Regions from separate parts of the Homo sapiens genome. Here all the other regions are linked to region 3. Evidence: promoter capture Hi-C in 16 types of primary human blood cells and fetal thymus (Javierre and others, 2016). All regions are on one chromosome and are shown on one strand. Each heading gives the region's core, a stretch centred on a gene start or on the middle of the fragment in contact. The rest is flanking DNA. Distances are from core to core; before and after follow the strand shown. Region 1 overlaps KDM6A (lysine demethylase 6A). Region 2 overlaps KDM6A (lysine demethylase 6A). Region 3 holds the start of DUSP21 (dual specificity phosphatase 21).

Region 1 (3,572 bases), core at 1,068-3,567, 220 kb after region 3:
TTCTCTTGATTTTTTTTTTTTTTCCCTTCCCTTCTCAGGTGCTATTCAAGTATTGGGAAAGTTCAGGATGCCTTTATATCTTACAGGCAGTCTATTGATAAATCAGAAGCAAGTGCAGATACATGGTGTTCAATAGGGTAAGCCTTTGTATAAAAATAGTAGTAATTTAATTGATATACAAAGATGGTTGCATCACATATAGTACTTCATAGTTTAAATCATTATAAAACCAAGCAGTTCTTCTGAGTTGACTTATTTTTTCTTAATTTCTCTTTCCAGTGTGCTATATCAGCAGCAAAATCAGCCCATGGATGCTTTACAGGCCTATATTTGTGCTGTACAATTGGACCATGGCCATGCTGCAGCCTGGATGGACCTAGGCACTCTCTATGAATCCTGCAACCAGCCTCAGGATGCCATTAAATGCTACTTAAATGCAACTAGAAGCAAAAGTTGTAGTAATACCTCTGCACTTGCAGCACGAATTAAGTATTTACAGGTAAAATTTTTAAATGGCAGTTTTTTAAAGCCACATATTTCCCCAGAACACTCAGGCAGAAGGAGGGTGGCTGGAAAGTTTGTCTAGTTGTGTTTTGATGTCTATAATCTGTTTCCATATTTTGTAAACATACCATAGCTTGTAATATTATTTTACTTTTCATTTTAAGTAAGATATGCAGTATTTTTAAAGATGCTCTTTTGCACATTTACTCTGTTGATGCATATTAATTTACATAATTTTTTTCTATGTACTGTCTACATTTTTAAGTTGTCATAGCATTTTATAGAAAACACAAACAGTCTTTCACTCTTGCTTGGAGTTTCTTGAGAAGACAGCTATGAGAACTCTGAAAACAGAGCTCAGCTTTGTTTTGATTCTCACAAAGGTTTATATTCCGGTTACCCTGTTTATACTTAGTGTCTTCTAAAGCCCCAAATTTAGAATCTATTTTCTTTTAAAAACAATTAGCTATAGCATTTAGGAAGATTTAGTGGACTTGCTCTTACTCAAGTAGGCTTGTGTTAAATTTGCTTTTTACATAATTTTTCCTAGGCTCAGTTGTGTAACCTTCCACAAGGTAGTCTACAGAATAAAACTAAATTACTTCCTAGTATTGAGGAGGCGTGGAGCCTACCAATTCCCGCAGAGCTTACCTCCAGGCAGGGTGCCATGAACACAGCACAGCAGGTGAGAAGTTGGGTTATGTTCTGCAGGTGCCCAGCTTTAAGGGTTCTTTTCAATTCTCTAGTGGTCAAGCTTAATTTACTAAGCACAGGAGGCTTTTAGTAATGAAAAGCCTTTTGATTTAATTGCAAAGGGAATCTAGATCAAAATAAAATTCCCTCTAATATGGGAAGAGATTTTGGGGTACCAACTTAGAACCTTTGTGCATTTTCATGATTTTGAAGGAGATTTCTTAAAATAATGCTACAGTGGTTTGTTTAATTTTTAAGGCAAGTTTTTCAAAGGAAGGTACACATTATTCCATTGATGAATCATTTAATTTTGATTTTCAATCATTGCAATCAGCGATGTCCACATAGCTTTGAAAAGTATGCAGCTTGTAAAGTTTTATAATTTGAAGGAATGAATTAAGAATATATAGAACCCTATTTTTGTCTTCCTTCTGTGATTCTTAGGCATGTAAACCTCATCATCCAAATACTGAACCTGTATTAGGCCTCAGTCAAACACCAATTTCACAGCAATCCTTGCCACTACACATGATTCCTTCTAGCCAAGTAGATGACCTGTCCAGTCCTGCCAAGAGGAAAAGAACATCTAGTCCAACAAAGGTATATGTTTTAGAGAAATAGAAAATCCCAGTCAAAAAAGAAGTTTCAGCTGCCCTGAAATTGTGCAGTTTGAACATTTCCTGTCCTTTATTTTAAATTTGTGGACATCAAAGAGTGAAAGGTTTGAGTTTTTCCATCCCAAACCCTTAGTATCATATTAAATATAGAAAGTAGGGATAAATTTGCATTCATCAAATCATTTTATTCATCTCCCTGCCGTTAAGATCCCAGCACACTTTTCATCATCACTTTTTACTGACATTGAAATAAATTTAATGTTGGATCTAGTGGACAGTGTGGTGTTTAGGCTAGCCGTTTGGGCCATAGTTTGAGGGTGGGCCTTTTTGGGTGGCTTATTAAATAGTCAGTAATTTTTAAATGTATGATTTCTAAGTTTAATATGCATGTAAAATTATTTTTTAAAGAATTTAATGTTATAACATCTTTTTAACATGTAAATATTCCAATTCATAGTCATTTGGCCTCCTCTAACCATTATTATTAACTGTGGATTTAACCAAATATTCTTTAATTTTTTTTTTAAATCGATTTTCCTCAGAATACTTCTGACAATTGGAGTGGTGGACATGCTGTGTCACATCCTCCAGTACAGCAACAAGCTCATTCATGGTGTTTGACACCACAGAAATTACAGGTATGTAAGATGTTTTTGACAAATTGTTTATTAAAAAGGAGTAGAGGTAGCAAACAAGTATTAATTTTTTTTTTTTTTTTTTTTTTTTTTGAGATAGAGTCTTGCTCTGTCACCCAGGCTGGAGTATAGTGGCACGCTCTTGGCTCACTGCAACCTCCGCGTCCTGTGTTAAAGTTATTCTTGTGCCTCAGCCTCCAGAGTAGCTGGGATTACAGGCACGCACCATCACACCCCGCTAATTTTTATATTTTTGGTAGAGACTGGGTTTCGCCATGTTGGCCAGACTGGTCTTGCACTCCTGACCTCAAGTGATCCACCTACCTCAGCCTCCCAAAGTGCTGAGATTACAGGTGTGAGCCACTGCACCCAGCCCTAAGTATTAATTCTTATAAGTTAAATGGCAGTACATTCAATTAAAATGCACAAAAGTAAAATGAGCCTGCATTTACCAGAATAATGAAGAGCATTCATTCTTGTTTTTAATTTCTTTTTTTTTTTTTAAACAGGACATGGTTTACACTACATAAAGTATAAATATAGGGTATATAGGGTAAAGTTTTCTTCTAACTCTGGCCCCTACCCACTCAAAATGTGGCTGGTATTACTAATTTCCTATCTATCATTCCAGAGGTATGTTATGTATGTACAAGCAAATATACATCCCCCCCTTTCTCACATGTATTATTATTTTTCTTCTTTTTTACACAAATGATAGGATTCTTATTTGCTGTTAACAACATATTTTACAGACTTCTGCATGTCAATATGTGAAGAGCTTCCTTGTTCTTTTATGGTTACATCATATTTCTTTATATAGATGTAACACCTTTATTTAAGCAGATCAGTAATTTTGGACATTCAGGTTGTCTTCAGACTTTGCTTATTCCAGACAGTGCTGCTTTTAGCATACTTGTCAATATATTTTTAAGCTTCAAGAGTTTTCTCTGTGAATACCTAAGAATACTGTATGGATGAGTAAAATTTCATGCCCATCTATTACAAAGAACTCATAGTAAATCTTGTTCAGATGAATGCTTAGTTCATTCTTATATTTCTCAAGCTTATTAAAGGACTTCATCTTGGAGTGTGTGACTGTTGGTCAGAAGACAGTGTGTTTGAC
Region 2 (4,003 bases), core at 1,368-3,867, 240 kb after region 3:
TGAAGAACTAAATACTACTAGAGTGTTCTCTGTTGAGCATTTGTAAGGTTTTGTTTCCAAAGACCCATTTTTCTATAGAATTATAGTGTGATGATTAATTTTTTTCTGTATAAGTACCGTGTGCTAACCAATTGCACCACTGGAGCTCCAATTTTTTTTCTTTTCACATTTCAGGTCATCAGGAAAATAACAACTTCTGTTCAGTTAACATAAATATTGGCCCAGGTGACTGTGAATGGTTTGTTGTTCCTGAAGGTTACTGGGGTGTTCTGAATGACTTCTGTGAAAAGTAGGTTTCCAAAGTAAATTTTCTTAAAACATATATTAGAAAGCAGTAATTGTAAACGACAACTTACCAAGCTGGATCTCCTAATGGATACATTGCCAGTATTCACTTACCATTCAGCGAAGAATTCATTTTAAATTATTTGATTCCAAACCTCATATTTTGTGTTATTGGAAATACTTTAAGAAAGATGCCATGAAACAACTTCATGCAGTAGTAGTACCCATGAATTAAGAAGATAGAAAAGTTGAGTTATTAGTTTAATTTTTAAAATGATGCATACTTATTCATTTGAAATGTGTGTATTCCAAGAAAAATTGTTTTGTTATAAATGGTTTTAGGAAGTAGAAGGAATTCTTTATTGAGCACCCGTATAGGCTGTGAATAACTCAAGCTTGACCATAATACCTTTTGCCATATCATGATATAAATTCTTTTTAAACTGACAACTTTTTCTATGAAGAAATTTTATAAAATGTATTATTTATTTTTTATTTTTAAATAGAGATGGGGTTTCACCATGTTGCCTAGGCTGCTCTTGAACTCCTGAGCTCAGGCGATCCACCTGCCTGGGCCTCCTACAGTGCTGGATTACAGGCATGATCCACCACATCCAGCCCAGATTTTGTTTTCTCTAGTTGAAAGAACTTGGATAGTTCCTTTCCTTAAGATCCCAGAAATAGCTTTTATTTACTTCTGTGTCTTGTGTTAAAAAGTACTTTGGAATTTTTTTTTAGTTGGTTTCAATTTGATCATTTGTCTAGATAGAACCTTACTCTCTTCTTTTCTAGAACCTTATTCTCTTCTTTTCTAGAAAGTACTTCATTATATAAGGACCTGGTATTTTCATTTAGTAATAACATTAGCAAATTAGTATAGGATGAAAATATACATTATATACACATTTGGTGTTATGCCCCCACCCCAATTAAAGGGGGAAAACACCCACAGAAAACATTTACATGAGATTACTTTGAAAACTAATTATACACATATTCCACATACTACTTTATTTTTATTTTTTCCTTTTTTAAGACGGAGTCTTGCTCTGTTGCCCAGGCTGTAGTGCAGTGGCACAATCTCAGCTTACTGCAGCCTCCGCCTCCCAGGTTCAAGCAATTCTCCTGCCTCAGCCTCCTGAGTAGCTGGGATTACAGGGGTGTGCCACCATGCCCTGCTAATTTGTGTATTTTTAGTAGAGACAGGGTTTCACCATGTTGGCCAGGCTGGTCTCGAACTCCTGACCTCGTGATCCACCCACCTTGGCTTCCCAAAGTGCTGGGATTACAGGCGTGAGCCACCACGCCCAGCCCCATACTAACTTCTAATTTCTTACTTTGGTTTAAGAATCTTTGCTGTAAATATTTGGATTTAGTAAGAAGTGCATCGTAGTTGAAAAACAAAAAAATATATTAATCCACAGTTTCCTTATATAAAAGCAAGAGATAATTACCTTATGTTGTCTTCTCTATTCATATATTGGTTTCCTTCAATGTAAGAAAGCCAAAGATACAGAGTTTTAAAGCTTCTAATGTACTGATGAAATAACCTGATTACTTTAATCTGTACTTTTTTTATGGACCAGTAGCAGCAGAGAAAGAACATTGTTATATGGGAAATCTCCATTGTGCTATAGAAAGATTTTTATTTCTTAAACTTTGAGTTAATACTATATTGTTGCAGCTATAGTACAGGAATCCTTGTTCATTGTTTCTGAGTAGGGACTGGCTATTTTTAGGGTGTAGTTTTGTTTCCTATCTAAATGGAGAGGTGTCTTGGGAAAAAAGATAATTAGAATAAGCAGATGATGTCCAAAAAGCTTGAGCGTAGGGATAATAAAAATATCAAGTTAGAAGGAAGGGTTAGGTAAATCTAATAACTCAGTTGTGAAAGTAGTACTTGCTTCTTCAGCATTTCACTGTAATTTTGTTTCACATAAAGATTGTTGCTTTTGATAGTGACTGTATACTGTATCTGTAGTTTATTTTATGGCTTTAAATAATACCTGTCTTGAAATAACCATTCTTTTGAATATATGATTAAAATGATGCATGCTTTTTGGTAAGTTTGATTTTTGGGGCGGGGGGTGTCTGTTTGGGATTACTTGCTTGCTTTTGGATAAAAAGTTTTCTCTAATTTTGTAATGGCAATACATGGGTGAAATAAGGCTAGGATTTGTGTCTATAGCCATTTTTTGCTTTATAGGCAACTTTTTCTGGACTGTATCTACTTGGCCTTGTCACACACAATAAGCCAATCCTTATCCCTTTGCAGTTAGGCTACCATTTGCACTCTAGTCTAAACTTTCAAGAGTAGCCTTGCATTTTTCAAGAGAGAAAAAGAGAGACTAAGGTTCTTTCTAGATCATAGTTTGGCGATTTCTTTTCCATGAAGGGCCAGATAATAAATATTTTCACCTTTCCTGGTCATGCGCTGTCTGTCACAACTGTGTCATTATAGCACAGACACAGAGATAGTACGTAAGTGAATGGACATAGCTGTATTCTAATGAGTTTTTTTTACAGAAACAGGCAGTGGGCTGAATTTGGCCCGTGGGCCATAGTTTGCCAACCCTTGATCTAGATAAAAAATTAAATTTAAACCAGTAAAAACAATTGTAAAGTATACTTTATCATGTGCTATAGCACAAGACAAATAAAGTAAGATTATTTCTTAGATCTTAAGGAAAGGAACATTTTTACTGTGTAAGTTCTTCCTTCCCCAAAATATGAAATTTGAAGTGGTTAATTCAATTTTATAAAGTTCTTTTATGGGAAAGGTTGCTATGTTGTTTAAAAAGTACTTCATATCATGATGGAGAATAAGAAGCCAGATATTAAAATAAAAGCTTAATAATATCTAAGGAATGTTTCCAAAGTATATTGGTAGTAGTGGTCATGATTATTTGTGCATGTGCGTGATTGTTTGTTTTTGCTGAAGTTGTTTTGAACTGCATAGTTTTAATCAGCTAATCATCAAACTATATGGAGTCTGACATCCAGTCTCCTTTTCCTCAGAAATTAAGGGAAGTTCCTGGTACTTGTATTGCCACAGTGTTCCTGTTTATGGATTTAAATGACTTGATGTCAACTCCACCTTCCATTTACCTTTTAGGGATTTCTAGGTGCTCCAGGGAGAAGGCTTCAGTCAAAAATAGTCTTTGTTGAAATGAAATTGAAAGTGAATTTATGTGTTACTTGAAAGTAGCTTTGGATTTCATTTGGATCTTTGAAAAATCAATTTAAGATGGTAATGCTGGGCCGGTCCACTTACTACAGGTATTATAATTCCTGTAATCCCAGCACTTTGGGAGGCCGAAGCAGGCGGATCTCCTGAGGTCAGGAGTTCGAGACCAGCTTGGCCAACCTGGTGAAACCCCGTCTGTACTGAAAATACAAAATTAGCCAGGCGTGGTGGCAGGTGCCTGTAATCCCAGTTACTCCAGAGGCTGAGGCAGGAGAATTGCTTGAGCCCAGGAGGCGGAGGTTGCAGTGAGCCTAGATGGAGCCACTGCACTCCCGCCCAGGCAACAGAGCAAGACTTTGTCTCAAAAAAAAAAAAAAAAAGTAACACTGATCTTTAGTAATTTAGTACTCAACCATAATTACACACTCTATATACATACAGCAGATCTTTTTGCACAAGCAATTATGTTTCAATAAAATGAACAAGTGTTTATTTAAAAAATTTGTGACATTTTCTTCCAGTCTTACTAGG
Region 3 (3,946 bases), core at 810-3,309:
GCGGAATTTTAAAACATCCAACATCCCTCAGACTAACAGGTGTCACAGAATATGAAGAATAAATAAATGAATCTATTTAACACGGGTCATGCTTGTCTTTGAAAATAGTGTCTGAGGCCGGGCGCGGTGGCTCATGCCTGTTATCCCTGCACTTTGGGAGGCCGAGGTGGGTGGGTCACCTGAGGTCGAGAGTTTGAGACCAGCCTGGCCAACATGGTGAAACCTCGTCTCTACTAAAAATACAAAAAATTAGCTGGGCATGGTGGCGCGAGCCTGTAATCCCAGCTACTCATGAGACTGAGGCAGGAGAATGGCTTGAACCTGGGAGGCGGAGGTTGTGGTGAACCAAGATCGCGCCACTGCACTCCAGCCTGGGCAACAAGAGCAAAACTCCGTCTCAAAAAAAATAAAAATAAAAAAAAGAAAAGAAAATAGTGTCTGAAATTATTTTGTTAATTGTACTTAGTTTTAAAGTTTAAGAAGTGTATACTTATGAAATAAGTAGACTCCAATACTAGTTTAGGGCCTCCACATTACTACATAGATTACAAAGCTTCTCCGTTAGCCCAGCTGAGCTGCCCCCAACAAACAGTTTTCATATTTATTTAGTATTCGTGTTCTATTTTCTTCCAGATAGCTTTGTGGGGACTGACAATTTAAGTAATGCAAAATAATTTGATTATGACAACTGAGAAAAGAAACGTGTGTTGTGTTTTGAGGTTATCATTTCCTTGACCATCATAAGCAGCCTGGTATCTATTTCATCTTTGTTCGTAATCACAGCACACCTTTGAACACATACCAAAATGATGATGGAATGAGAGCAAAGTATGTGAGTCAATTGGCTACTCTGTGAAACAATTTGTTAGTTTTAGGCTATAGTTCTTTTCAATTTTCAGCCAAATTCTATAAAAATCTTAGCTGGAAGGAAATGCAAATGTCAGGTTACATTTTAGAAATTAATTTTTGGGCTGAGTGCTGTGGCTCGTGCATGTAATCCCAGCACTTTGGGAGGCCGAGGCCGGTGGATCACCTGAGGTCAGGAGTTTGAGACCAGCCTGGCCAACATGGTGAAATCCTGTCTCTACTAAAAATACAAGAATTCGCCAGGTGTGGTGGTGCGTTCCTGTAATCCCAGCTACTCGGTAGGCTAAGGCACAAGAATCACTTGAACCCAGGAAGCAGAGGCCTGGGACTCTCCAGCCTGGGTGACAGAGCAAAACTGTCTCAATTTTTGGCCCAATTACCATGTAGCATTAACTTGTTTCAGAATGTTTAATATTACTGGGAAGACAGCATCGGTAGTGGTCAAAGTGATTTGTAGTTCACAAAGCATGTAGGCATTTTTTTTTGAAGAAAGTAAACAAAATAATTTGAACTGTTGTTTCAGGTAATAAAATAGACTCATGCGGTAAGTCATTTGAGCTGTATGTACAAATGGACTATGACACAGCTAAATTAGTCACAACTGTCCACCACAGGCCAACTTCAAGATAAAGGGCTATATATCAGTTAGCAATGCTCTCTTACAACCAGCCCTGATGTGTTTGTAAGCAGGAAAATAATTTTATGGTTACAATCAACAAAGAAGTATCAGGCCAGTCCACCAAGCCCAGCCAAATCCCATATCTCGCTCCAGTTTTATAGAGATTAGCATATCACATGAGCCAAATGCTGTTCCCCAACTTAGAATGTGATATTGCTATTTTGCAGGGAAAGTGTAAGCCCTGTTCTGCAACACTGATGAAATAGAAGTATTCATAGATCTTGTTTAACGTGGTCCAATAATTGAAACATAAAATAGATATCTTGTAACAGAACATTTTTAAAAGTCAAGAAAGATAAGAATTAGGCCTTGGAAAATAAATGACTATGAAGAAAGATAAAAAGAAAAGAGACTGGGGTGTCTCTGAAGACCCTGCTTAGAGGCCCTGTCCTCCTTGCGGCAAGCGGCCATTGCCATGGAAACCGGAGCCGCAGGGCTATCTGTCCGGGATTGTGACGCCCAGATGGGAGTGGTGAGAGGAGACAGAAAGAGGGTGGTGGCCGATAGCTGGTCCTCTTTCTCCAACACCTAGCCTGAGACTTGGCGGCGCGGCTGCTATCCTGAACTAGCTTGGTAAGTGTTGTGTCCCGAACCAGCGTAGAGAGACCTCGGACCAGCCGCCTTGATGACAGCATCCGCGTCCTCCTTTTCATCATCTCAGGGTGTCCAGCAGCCCTCCATCTACAGCTTCTCCCAAATAACCAGAAGCTTGTTTCTCAGCAATGGTGTGGCCGCCAACGACAAACTCCTTCTGTCCAGCAATCGCATCACCGCCATTGTCAATGCCTCGGTGGAAGTGGTCAACGTATTCTTCGAGGGCATTCAGTACATAAAGGTGCCTGTTACCGATGCTCGTGACTCGCGTCTCTACGACTTTTTTGACCCCATTGCTGATCTTATCCACACCATCGATATGAGGCAGGGCCGTACGCTGCTGCACTGCATGGCTGGAGTGAGCCGTTCCGCCTCACTGTGCCTTGCGTACCTCATGAAATACCACTCCATGTCGCTGCTGGACGCCCATACATGGACCAAGTCGCGCCGCCCCATCATCCGGCCCAACAACGGCTTTTGGGAACAGCTCATCAATTACGAATTCAAGCTGTTTAATAACAACACCGTGCGCATGATCAACTCGCCGGTAGGTAACATCCCTGACATCTATGAGAAGGACCTACGTATGATGATATCAATGTAAGCCATCCCGGCCAGCCCCTGACATCTGCCATCGATCTTGCACCAAGACTGAACTTGAACACTGACATTTTGTTAGTAAAGAAAACCGGATGGTGCCTTGTTAAAGGGCAAGAAAAAAGGGAGGGGGTTGGAGTTTTGAACGTAGTAAGCCTTACCTTAATAGAATTAAATTCATGAAACATAAGATAGTGAAAATATTTTTTATATTGTGAGGTCAAGCTATTGGGGCCTGGCTGGAACCAGGGTGGGGCAAGTAATGCTCAGCTCACATAGACCTGCCAGCAGCACCCAATACATGTGGCAGACCTGGAATCCTGAGCCCTGCCAGAGGCTGACTAACCCAGGAGTGAATCCCCTAGAATCTCACCCGGTTCTTTCCAACCCAAAGTCAAAGCCTTAGACATCTTGGCATCCCTTGCACTTCTCCCAGTAAGTGCCAACCTAGTGGATAAGTGGCTTTCATTCAAGCTGTGCTCCAGGAGCTCTGGAGGAGTCTCAGGCTACCCTTGCCCACCTTCAATCACAGTGGCCCATCTCTGGTTTTCTAGATCGGATTTATACATTAGTTAAAAAAAAAAAAACTAGTTTTTTAAAAGACCATTCCACTCCATAAAGTTTAAAAATATTGTATTTTTTTGACTGCTGTACTTGATGGCAAGTTCTCAAGGTGTCTTTGGTGATCTCCCACCGGCCTTTGTGAAAAGGGACATAGTCCTTTTCCCAGGGCATATACTGAGAGAGAACAGGCCTGACACCAGGCCTCAGGGGTTCCTCTCATGAGCCTTGGCTTAAGAGGCTGGAGCTGCTGGCCATGACCCAGCCCTGTCACCTCTAACATCTCCTTTCATTGTGACCTTGGTCCTCTCAGAGCTTCACTTTCCTCACCTGTCAAAGCAACTGTCTCCCATAGAGTTGTTGTGAGGACTGGGTTCCTTAGCATAGTACCTGGCACATGAATGGTTTCATGCTTGGAGTAAAAGGCAATGATACTCTTTGACCCTGGTTTGAGGTCAGCACACTCATCCTCATAATGGCATTTCCCCCATCTGTGCACAGTCCTTTGTTATTTACAAAATGTTCTTCCAAAAAATCTAAAAACAAATGGCTTAAGGTCCTTTTGGACCTTACCTTAGAATGGGCCTAGATTCGGGCATGGTGGCTGGCACCTGTAGTCCCAGCTACTCGGGAGGCTGAGGCAAGAGA

The links. The method cuts DNA at HindIII sites, captures the fragments that hold promoters and counts their contacts. A CHiCAGO score of 5 or more calls a contact.
Region 1: a contact is called between a fragment that was not itself captured here and the fragment with the promoter of DUSP21 in region 3, in 1 of 17 cell types (erythroblasts). The highest score is 6.1, in erythroblasts.
Region 2: a fragment that was not itself captured here is called in contact with the fragment with the promoter of DUSP21 in region 3 in 1 of 17 cell types (erythroblasts); the score reaches 5.2 in erythroblasts.

Annotation. Positions count from the first base shown.
Region 1 is chrX:45,058,968-45,062,539 of GRCh38, forward strand. KDM6A (lysine demethylase 6A) reads left to right here. Exons shown (of 30, transcript NM_001291415.2): 11 at 39-137; 12 at 280-499; 13 at 1,055-1,189; 14 at 1,642-1,797; 15 at 2,357-2,452. Among named protein-coding and RNA genes, the nearest start is that of DIPK2B, 140 kb to the right of the region's middle. The HindIII fragment of the contact is 2,123 bases long and covers 1,257-3,379 here.
Region 2 is chrX:45,085,691-45,089,693 of GRCh38, forward strand. It overlaps KDM6A (lysine demethylase 6A), which reads left to right. Exons shown (of 30, transcript NM_001291415.2): 25 at 175-289. Among named protein-coding and RNA genes, the nearest start is that of DIPK2B, 110 kb to the right of the region's middle. The HindIII fragment of the contact is 1,029 bases long and covers 2,104-3,132 here.
Region 3 is chrX:44,841,962-44,845,907 of GRCh38, forward strand. DUSP21 (dual specificity phosphatase 21) reads left to right here and starts at 2,060. Exons shown (of 1, transcript NM_022076.4): 1 at 2,060-2,927. The coding sequence starts at 2,172. The coding sequence ends at 2,744. The HindIII fragment of the contact is 1,701 bases long and covers 552-2,252 here.